Regions from separate parts of the Homo sapiens genome. Here region 2 is linked to region 1. The links are contacts of gene promoters, found by promoter capture Hi-C in human tissues and cell types (Jung and others, 2019). All regions are on one chromosome and are shown on one strand. Each heading gives the region's core, a stretch centred on a gene start or on the middle of the fragment in contact. The rest is flanking DNA. Distances are from core to core; before and after follow the strand shown.

Evidence for each region. The method cuts DNA at HindIII sites, captures the fragments that hold promoters and counts their contacts. A contact is called where the count stands out against the background at its distance.
Region 2: a contact is called between a fragment that was not itself captured here and the fragment with the promoter of SEMA3E in region 1, in 2 of the 25 tissues and cell types used here (spleen and stomach).

Annotation. Positions count from the first base shown.
Region 1 is chr7:83,646,391-83,651,781 of GRCh38, reverse strand. SEMA3E (semaphorin 3E) reads left to right here and starts at 2,643. Exons shown (of 17, transcript NM_012431.3): 1 at 2,643-3,354. The coding sequence starts at 3,240. The HindIII fragment of the contact is 5,454 bases long and covers 97-5,391 here.
Region 2 is chr7:83,441,504-83,446,894 of GRCh38, reverse strand. The region is part of intron 4 of SEMA3E (semaphorin 3E); the gene reads left to right. Among named protein-coding and RNA genes, the nearest start is that of SEMA3E, 200 kb to the left of the region's middle. The HindIII fragment of the contact is 4,069 bases long and covers 444-4,512 here.

The DNA.
Region 1 (5,391 bases), core at 1,394-3,893:
CATCTGTCAAACACAAATCTTAGAACGTAAAATTTCAGGCAAACTGGGAACATGAGGTGGGGCATAGCAAGCTGTTCTTCAACAAGTACCTGAGGTTGATTCAACAGCAGATAGTATGGGATTGCCTCCTGGGAGGGCTTGTTGTAGAAGCTAGTTGATTTTCTGCTGTTGAAATTGGAGAACCAGTGATGGAACCCATCATGGGGGAGACTGCAGCTCCTGATGAGTACCCAATTTTCTTTTTTTATTTTTCTCCTTTTTCTACCAGACTGAGATTGCTCTTCATACAATGATGTAAGACTAGCAAGAATGAGAGATTTTGGAATAAAACCCTTGACCTGGCAATCAATTCCTTTCTAATTGGCATTTATCTTCTCCCCTGGTTTTCCTTGTTGTCTGATATTGTTCAAACTGCTAGCCTGGATCCTCTCAAATCAAATACAGTAACATCACCTGATATTGTTGGTAACTCCAAAGTTTTTCAGTCCACTAAAGCTCTTCCCTTACTGTTGGTGGTGAGTCAGTTGTTGTTATTGTTTTTAATTTTCTATTTCCATGTTTCCCAAGAGTATCTAGAAATGGCTCCCAAGGATTCAGATTTTGATGTTGTGATTTGTCTATAGTATTATTGATTTGTGTGTAATTATGAATAGAAGCCTCTTTTATTCTCAAAAAAAGTCTTGTTTAGATGATGAGCTATTTGATGACTCTACTTCTGAGGATTCTTCTTGTTTTATTTTATGATGTAAGTGACTAATTTGGTCCCAAAGACTCTTTATTCCATTGCTAATGCCACATAGGGGAAACTGAGACTATAGATAGTTTTCTTAACAGTCATTTTTTGGCATCATCTATATATTTTCTATAGGATAAAGATAAAGGTAAAAGGACATAAAGAGTAGTTAAAAGAAATAAGTAAGGACATTGACAACTGGCAGATAAGCCAAAGCACATTTTGAGGAATCTAAACAACCCATTATTCTGGCATTTACTTCTAAATTGCTCCAACTTAATCTGAAGGATGAGATGTAAAACCAAAGACAGATCTTGGCATTCATAACATATATTCTCTTGTCAACACTTTAGAGGTGCATATTTTGTGTACTAATGAAATGATTGTAATGTCTCACATTGTCTCAGTTCTATAGTAGAGTTAGGACAGGCACTATGCAATCTTAAGTAGAATTTCAGCTATGTGAGAGTAGCCATGAATTTGCAATAAAAGGTGTAGGCACCACATTTACTTTTCCTATAATCCTACTATTAGATAACACATATAAGAGCTGCTATTTATTTTGTCATTTGTTTCCATCCTAGAAGAAAGCAAAAGAGAATTTTGAAGGTACAATGTATCACATTTAGAGCAACCTTTAGGTCTGTAGCTCATCAGACTGGCTTTTAAAATATGCAAGCATTCCAGGTTAAAAGTCTCTAAATAACTTCATGTCATTTTACTGTTAAATAATGTTTAGAGTTTGCTATCTTTTGTAGACCTTGGAAATCTAATTATTTATAATGTCCAGTGACATTTACATTTTGCTAAATATACTCTGCTTGTACAAGAACATCTCATGATTAGAAAAATGGGTAGAGAATGCCTGGCTGTACATATGCTTCTATATAATGCAAAAATATCAGGGTGACACATGTTATCTTTTTGTTATAGTTTCGTGATTTTAAAACATAATTCTCAAAAAGTTTTTAACTATTAGCATTTAAAATACAGAATAAGAAAAAGTTATCATAGTTGAGATCAGTGTTTACCATTTAACTCTCCACTATCAAATCAAATATCTATTCAAGTTTATTGGTATCTTAACATAATACCATTCATTTCCATGCCAACAGCTCCTGAGTGTTTGGCTTAGTTTTTGAGATTGATTGAAGGTAGATTGTAAAGTTGACCTATTGTGTTAAGCTTATTTACACAAACACAGTGCCTTGGAAAATCAACTCTGGAAGTCCATAGCAGTTGAATCCTAAGGTATTGCACATCCTAAGTTTTCTAATACCTGCTTTATAGAAATCCCTTGGGTGGTGAATCTCAACTTTGCCAGTTACCTTACCTGGGGGAAATTACTTCAACATTCCTAAATTTGAAGTAAAATTTAGGAATTGCTTTAGGACAAAGGATTTGCCTTTAATTTCATTTGACCAATTTGCTTAAGTAAATAATTTATCATTTCTATCAAATTTATGAGACAGTCACAGATGAACTTTTTTTTTTCAGGCTCTTGAAACACACTTTTCTTAAAAGAGTTTAAAAATAACATCCCTAAGATATAAGCAATAGAAAAAGACTTAATTTTGAAAAAAACCTTATGGCAACAGTGAAAAACAGAATTTGGATTCTGGATGGTTACAAATAGATTATTTTCAAAAGAAGTTGGATTTATTCAACTTAGGTCAATTTATCTTGGTAAGAATTTAAAAGCGCTTTCTGATGCCACATCCTTGTCTGTCACCTATTCTTAAATAATCAGTCTATGTCATCACCCCTCCCGAACTCCCCATTTCCCCCATCAAAATGTGGACTTCTCTCCTGCTGCTGAGTAACGTGGGGCTGGTTATGACTGGGAGGGAGGATGGGAGCGAGGCACGTGGACCAGAAATACTTCCTAGAAACAGCAAGTACGCTGCTCAACCCTGCCTGAACTTTCCTGTAAACAGCCACTGACAGACTGCATCCCTGCTGGGTGGATCCTGCGACTCCTAGAGGGAATGGCACTTCTTGTTTTTAATTAGCAAGGTGAAAGGTGAATTAAAACTAGCAGTTTGGCAAGTCAGTGCAAGAGGCTGACTTCTGAGAGGCTTCCAGGAGCCCGAAGAGAGGACCTCCACGGGAGAAGGGAGTGCGTGTGCTCGGTTTTGTTTTTTTCTCTCTTTTTTTTTTTTTTTTCTGAATGAACAGCTTTGCCCAAGTGACTGAAAAATACAGCTTCTTCCTGAATCTACCGGCGTAGTTGCTGAAGAGCGCTCTAGACAGGACATGGCTCTGAAGACTCACTCTTTGGAATGTCCTCTTGCTCCCGGCTTATAAACAACTGTCCCGAGGAAAGAAAGGTTTTACATAGCCAAATACAGCCTGACAAATGGCACTTCGGAACTGTGCTTTCTGATGACAACGCGTTCGATTTCTGACAAAGCCTCTCGCACGCTGCCCCTGGAGGGAAGTCCTAAGTAAAACTCAGACCCTCCTTAAAGTGAGGAGCGAGGGCTTGGACGGTGAACACGGCAGCATGGCATCCGCGGGGCACATTATCACCTTGCTCCTGTGGGGTTACTTACTGGAGCTTTGGACAGGAGGTCATACAGCTGATACTACCCACCCCCGGTTACGCCTGTCACATAAAGGTAGGTTACCTTTCCAGATCCTTTTGTTTAAAAAAAAAAAAAAAGAAAAAGAAAAAAGAAAAAAAAAGTCGTTTAACATTAACATAGGCTTATGGTCTTCAAAGACCTTTAAAATGCACCTGAAAAATTTATTGCAAAACTGACCTAAAATTCTAAGTACCTCTGATTAATGTGTCATACTCACCTCATCTGAAAACAGTGCAAAATCACATGTCAACTTAGAGATGTTATTTTTGTCTGTAAACATTGGATTTTATCAATAAGGAGTTCACTCACTAGCCCGCGGAACACAGGAAGGGAGGAAGCAGGTTGAAAATAGCCTTGAGAGGCTGAATCCACCAAGTTAACAGTAGATATTTAAATATCAGTTTATGCATATGAGAAACAAGGATGCTGGGAAAGGGCTATAGAAATAGGGGTGCAATTTGTTCTTTTTGTTTTTGTTTTGTTTTGTTTCCATAATGGAGGTAAGAGGAGAAAATAAAAATCCCGAGGAGAAAAATGATGCCCTACCCATAACTGTCATCATCATGTAATTAAAATGATTAACAACTAATATAAATTAGTTTTCCAGTTGAATTGATTATTAGAATTTTTTCATGTGTGGCAAAGGAAAATAGTTTATGACAATGCTTGTAAAATGGCTAATATGGATTAAAGTATTAGTATTCACTAGCATTTGTAGTGTAAATTTATATTGCCTTAATGAAGATCTAACAGCAAATGTTTAAATATTTCATTCTACAATTGTCTTGTAAAGCAACATCATACTCATAAATAAATGATTAAAAGATAGATTTTGCATCAGGACCAATACAAGCCAGTCATGAATAGGTTTGGTAATTCCTCCTGTAAACAAACAAATAATAAACAAAACCATGCTCAGAGAAAGTGACTTTGCTGACTTAATATAAATTCGGAATAAATTGTCAGCAAAGAAGTATTTATTATCACTAGCCATTGACACATTGAGACAGATAGCAGATGTAATACTCAGGATTACATAAGAATCATTTTTCAATTGTGTAAGCTTTTAAATTGTCCCCCACTGTAGAAAGAACAGAAGCTTGTATTTTCTAAGTACAGGTAGAATATTTATCAGGAGAAACAAAAAGGGAGTCCTCAATTTTATGTGACACGTTTGGCCTTTTTGTCTTTTTATTGGACAATCTTCAGTAAATGTTGACTATAGAAATTTTTTCATTTTTAGAATAGTGGATGTTTTCTTAGTTTAAATAGATTTCCTATAATACTATCCAGTAGATAATATAAATTTAAGAAATCCATTGATACTAAATTGGTAAAGTGTTTAAAATATAGTGCCCAGAATTAACACTAATCTTTTAACTTGGGAAGATGTATCATGGTATGTATCAAAATGCCTATTTCTAAGAAGTTTATCATCAAAGATGTCAACATGTACAAATTTGATGTGATGGAATATGGACAAATAAAAATGCAAAAAAATATAATTGATTGTTTTTCTTATGTAGACAAGTAGATAAGCTGCCAGTTTTTGCAAGCTACAATTCTGTTATATCTAGTATTAACATTTTATACCCTATTATTGGGGTACTTGTGTTTTCATGGTTCAATATCAGTGTGTTTTCCAACAGGTCACATTTTAATATTTCATAAGAGAGTTAATAATTTGATCAAAAAATACCAAAGTTCTCTGATACAAGTAAATGTTATGCATAATACTATTATCGAGTTCATCTTTATTATGTCACTTATATTCAAAGAAATAATTGTAACTGATGTTATGAGTGGTGTCATATGGTGTGAGAGTAAAACCGCTAGTATCTATATGTACAATAGACTGAAAACTCCCACAGGATTTCCCTTAACTTTGAATTTAATGGAACCAGCTGAAAATGCACAATATGATGTTTTTATACAAAGGCAGAATAGAGAGAGTTACCTGAAAATAGAATGTTCCTACTTGTGCAATTTAGTTAGTAAAGTCAGTTAAGAGATCACACTGGAGATGCTACCTGAAGCAGCAAATGCCTACTGCACCTCAGGGGCCTCAGT
Region 2 (5,391 bases), core at 1,229-3,728, 200 kb after region 1:
GTGCCAGTTGTTTTTGTTCATTTATTTTGATACTCATAACACTTCACAAGGGAGTGTTAAATGTTATTCTCATTTAACAAATGAAAAAAGGAAGAAATGAAGTCACTTCTTAATGCTATTATACAGTACTGGAAGAACTTGAGCTTCATGGTCAAAGGCCAAGTTATTTTCATTATAATGTGTTGCTTTCCCAAATTACATACTATATTGATGCACTTTGTAAAACTATGAAGGGTCACGTAGAGAGTTTAACGTTGGTAACAATTGTGTCTAAGCAGCATCTGCTGTGTGAATCTATACCTTCCACTGCTTTTCCACTCTTTCAATTTGATCTTCATCCTCAGCTGTCAGCAGACATCTCATTTTCAGTCTTTCAATGCCCCCAGATTTTGCTTTTTTCTGACACAGGGGAGACCTCACTGCAGTGGTATTCACAAAACGTCACCACAAACTACTTGGTTCTTTGTGTATCTGTGTATTCACCTTTATAATTCATTGGCCTTGGTTCTGTTGAAACTTTTGTTTTCTCCACTGCTGTTTGAAACTGCTGAATATCATTAGAGACAATTGTAAGATGCCTTCACTGTTATTCAGATGAGCCTATATACATGTGGTCAATCTTTTTTAGCCCTTAATTAACTCTTGGCATTGTCCAAGTTGCTACTATTCTGGAGGGTGGATGGGAATAGATTAATGTAGTGGAAAGAATACAGGCTTTAGGACTAACATGAAATTTCAAATCCAAAGTCTGCTACACACTAACTGTGTAACCCTGAGTCAATATCCACGTTGAGCTTCAGTTTCCTTACCTATAAACTTAAGACTCCATTTTAATGAGTAGCTTGTCAAAGTTACATGGATTTTCTGAATCATAAATGGGAAAGCAGCTGCCTTAGGGACTGGAATGTAGTAAGTGTACACAAGATGCTACTTTTGTTCATGTTAAGTCTCCAATGCTGCCTTCACCTTTTTCTAACTCAAAGCATTTGAAATATCTCCTATTTAAAAAGGCAAATGGAGGCCGTAAAGTAAAAGTCCATAACTTCCCTCTCTCTTTCACTTCTAAATTTAAATATTTGGTGCTACCTTTCCCCTTCTCAGATGAAGCCCTCACTCTTCTTTCTCAGATAATTTATTCCACCTATACTCTTTTTATTTATTTATTTATTTTAATTTGAGATGAAGTCTCACTCTTGTTGCCCAGGCTGGAATGCAATGGCGCAATCTTGGCTCACTGCAACGTCTGCCTCCTGGGTTCAAGCGATTCTCCTGCCTCAGCCTCCCAAGTTGCTGGGATTACAGGCACCCACCAGGACGCCCAGCTAATTTTTGTATTATTAGTAGGGACGGGGTTTCACCATGTTGGCCAGGCCTGTCTTGAACTCCTGACCTCAGGCCAAACACCCGCCTCAGCCTCCCAGAGTGCTGGGATTACAGGCGTGAGCCACCGTGCCCGGCCCCACCTATACTCTTGATGACATCTCTTTGTTTCTTCATTACTTTAATCCACCAAATATCCTTTTTTTTCTATCCACCTCTACCTTCCAGAATATAAAAATGTTTTAGAGTTCTCTATTCTGAAATAAAAATTATAAAACAAACAAAAATTTTGCCTCAAGCTTACTTAACCTACAAGCTGATTTATTGACTCCAGCATTTTCTAAAATGTCTTGAACGAATAGTCTGTATTTGCTATCTTTGCTTCCTCAACTTCCATTTACTCTTCCACTCAAGGTGCATCTATCACTTTGTTGAAACGGACTGGTTATTGTTACCTACAGCCTTCTAGTTGGTAAATGTCTTCCTTAACTCATTTTCCTCCACTGCTTCCTTGCTGCATCTGACAGTGTTAGTAATTTTCAAATAGAAGCTTTCTTCCTTTCATTTTTAGGACCATGTTTTCCCCATAGTTTTGAAATGCTGAGGCTGGTCACGGTGGCTCACGCCTGTAATCCCAGCACTTTGGGAGGCCAAAACGGGCGCATCACCTGAGGTCAGGAGTTTGAGACCAGCCTGGCCAACGTGGCAAAATCCCATCTCTACTAAAAATACAAAAATTAGCCAGGAGTGGTGATGTGTGCCTGTAGTCCCGGCTGCTCTGGGGGCTGAGGCAGGAGAATCACTTGAACCCCGGAGGCGGAGTTTGCAGTGAGCCGAGACTGAGCCACTGCACTCTGGCATGGGTGACAAAATGAGACTCCATCTCAAAAAAAAAAAAAAATGCTGAATATTCTGCCTTCCTAGCCTTTTAAATGTTGATGATTGCAGGAATTCTTTTCTTGGTCCGTGTTTTCCAACATTGCATGCTTTCCTTGGTATTCTTATTTCTTTACATAGCTACATCTACCCTCTGTTGGATGGCTCCAAAATCATATTCCCATAATTGGTCTTTATCTAGAAATCTATAATCACATTTTCTATGCTTACTGGACATTTATCCCTAAAGTAATTCCCTAGAGACAATGTAAGATAACCATTCTTTTAACAAATAAAACTCTACACATTCAGGTTGACAAAGGAGGGAGGACCTCTTGACAAGAGGAAGAGACAGATCCTATGCTTCCTTCATGACTCTACTCTCCAACAAAAGAGACCAAAGAGACAATCACGAGATTTTGTGCCATGTTTCAAAGACTATATTCTCTAATTTGTCCATGCATTCACTATGCTGATTCCTTTACTTGGAAAACTCTTATCCTTATTCTCTGTTTGGAACATCCTAACTCATCCATCAAGACTGAGATCACACATTATCTCCTCTATTAAGCTTATCTCAACCTCTATCAGATGAAGCTACTTACTTCAATGATTAATTTGGATTTTAATTGTACTTAAGACAAAACTTAATTTTGAATTAGTATCTCAAGAGACTGTCATTTCTAACTATATCTTCATGCTTCAACATAATGCTGGCAGCAGTCATTGAAATCATTCATTGAAAACATGTAATAAACATATATATATATATATATATATATCAGGTCATTATTTTACTTAACGTTATTTAACTTAACCTAGTTATTTATAAACTATTAATTGCTAGACCCTTAAATAGTTGTTGCATTAATATAAATCAATAAAAGATGCTTCTGAATAGAATTGAGTATTATGTTGACTTTTAAATTTAAAACTGGTATGTTCAAATATTTGAATACTCTTTAAATTTTTTTTGAATTTTTAAAATCAATATTGAAAATTCAAGATCACATATATGCAAGTATATATATGATGATCTTTCCAGCTTTCTGGACTAATTACTCTTTGACTGTTTCCTCTTCTATACTAATCATTTATAAATCATAATTTAAATGTTTATTTCTTATATAATGTCTTTAGTGAACTGCTTTTATTTCAACCCTGATTTGGAATCAATCATAGGCTATCTATCAGGCTGTGCAAATAAACCTTTGCTTAACTCAAATTAACAAAGCCTTGGTTGAATACATCAGGGGAGGCAGTATCTAGTCTGTCTTGCTATAATTCTTCTGTGACCTAAGCCAGTTCATATAACTGATGCTTTGTTATTGTGATGACACTTTTACTTTATACCCTTTTTCTGTCAGAAGTGGATACCTAATGGGCTCTTTCATGTTCCAAGTGTTCAGATTTTTGTTCAGGAGCTCTAATCCAACCCTTGGGGTCCTACTTTTGGTTTTGTCCCTTCTTCAATCCAATACCCCGTCACCATGTCAGAAAGGTCCTGTACAAAGGTACTCCACTACCCTGTCTCTTTCTGATTTGATGGTTAGTATGGGCAGTAACTGGACGTCTCTTTGCTGTGTCAGCTTTATTCTATTCTTATCATACTTGTTCTGGCTTTACCATTACAGAGCTGCTCAAATTCTGGCTCTCAGTTCCAACAGTCTCTTCTCTCTGTATTCCCCTTCTGGTTTCCCCAGTCCCTCATATCTACACCCTCACAACTTGGACTACTTCATCGACACAAGCTACTAAGAAGGAGAGTTGCTACAATGTACTGGAAATTCCAAGGATGTTTTATTAGCTATGCTGCAGAATTAGAGGAAAGTGCTAAAGTTCAAATACTTCTACCTGACAGAGCAGTGCTTCCTCATGGGGGGCATAGAAGTTCTGGTAAACTCTCAGGAGGGTGGAGGGTTCCTGGCCAGGAACATCAGGAAGGGGACTGAGTGAAAACACGTAACTCTACATGATGTAGAGGATGGTCTAAACATACAGTTGTAGGGAAAAAGGCTATAAAAAACAAAACAAAACAAAACCCACAAACAAAAACCTGACCCCGAGTATAGCAGCTTTAGCAAACGTAGAAAAAAGAAAAGAGAAAAATAACAAGCAAGTAAACTCTTCACTGATGGTGTTTTTCTTTGGGAACTTTCTATAGGATTCCCATTCCTTAAGTGGCTAAATCACTGTTGAGATAATAGAAATTTACATTGGCTAAATATGTGAGAGTATAAAAGTAAAGGAGCCAAGTGGACAGTGAGTAGTTAAACAGAAAATTGCCTGCCTTGTTTCCAAACAGAACTGAGTCTGGTAAACATCTCTTCAGTCCAGTGATGTCTAAATAAAAATCAGCAAACCTTGGGGCTAAGGAAAGGATCGGCATCCAAAATGTGGTAGCACAGGATATTGAAAAGAGATTGAAAAGTATTTATTAATTAAAGAAATGGAAATAGGACATAATATTATTTGTTTGACTTCTAAGTAAAACTCAAATATAATGTGAATTTTTGGAATAAGATATGAAAGATTCTGTAAAGGCTGGAGGGGAATTTAACACATCTTCAATAGTGGTTATCTCCAAATATTTGAATTATGAAAAAATCATTAATTACAGGTTTATGTATGTACATTCTACATTTTTTCTCCATAATATGTAGATTTAATTTGAAAGTAATCATGTTGCTTCATTCATTTATAGTTATGCAAGTTTTTGCCTTCCTCTTTGTAAAGAATTCAAAGAACAGAGACAAGTTGAAAGTACTGATTGAACATTACCCCAATCTTAGTCTTTTCTTTGGAAAAAAATAAAACAAAAAACACTCTCACCAGCTTACATTGTCTTGCAGACCTTTTCCTCTCTGGAAGGACGCAATCCAAACTGATGACAGTGGTGATATTAATTGTATATATACACACATGTATATATGTGTGTGTATCCATACCTGTAGGCTTAAAAATCTGTTTCTTGCTGGATGTGTAACATGGGGCAGGTTACTCTTTCTGATGGTGGCTCAGTGTCCTCCTCCATAAAATGGAGCTTACCTCACATATAGGGTTGCTGTGATGATTAAATTAATGTAAATAAAGCACCTAGAATACTACTTGGCAAATAGTAAATGTTGTATGACTATAGCTATCATTGTCATATCAACGGCAGACCCAGCTGCAGCAGCAGCATCACCATATCTT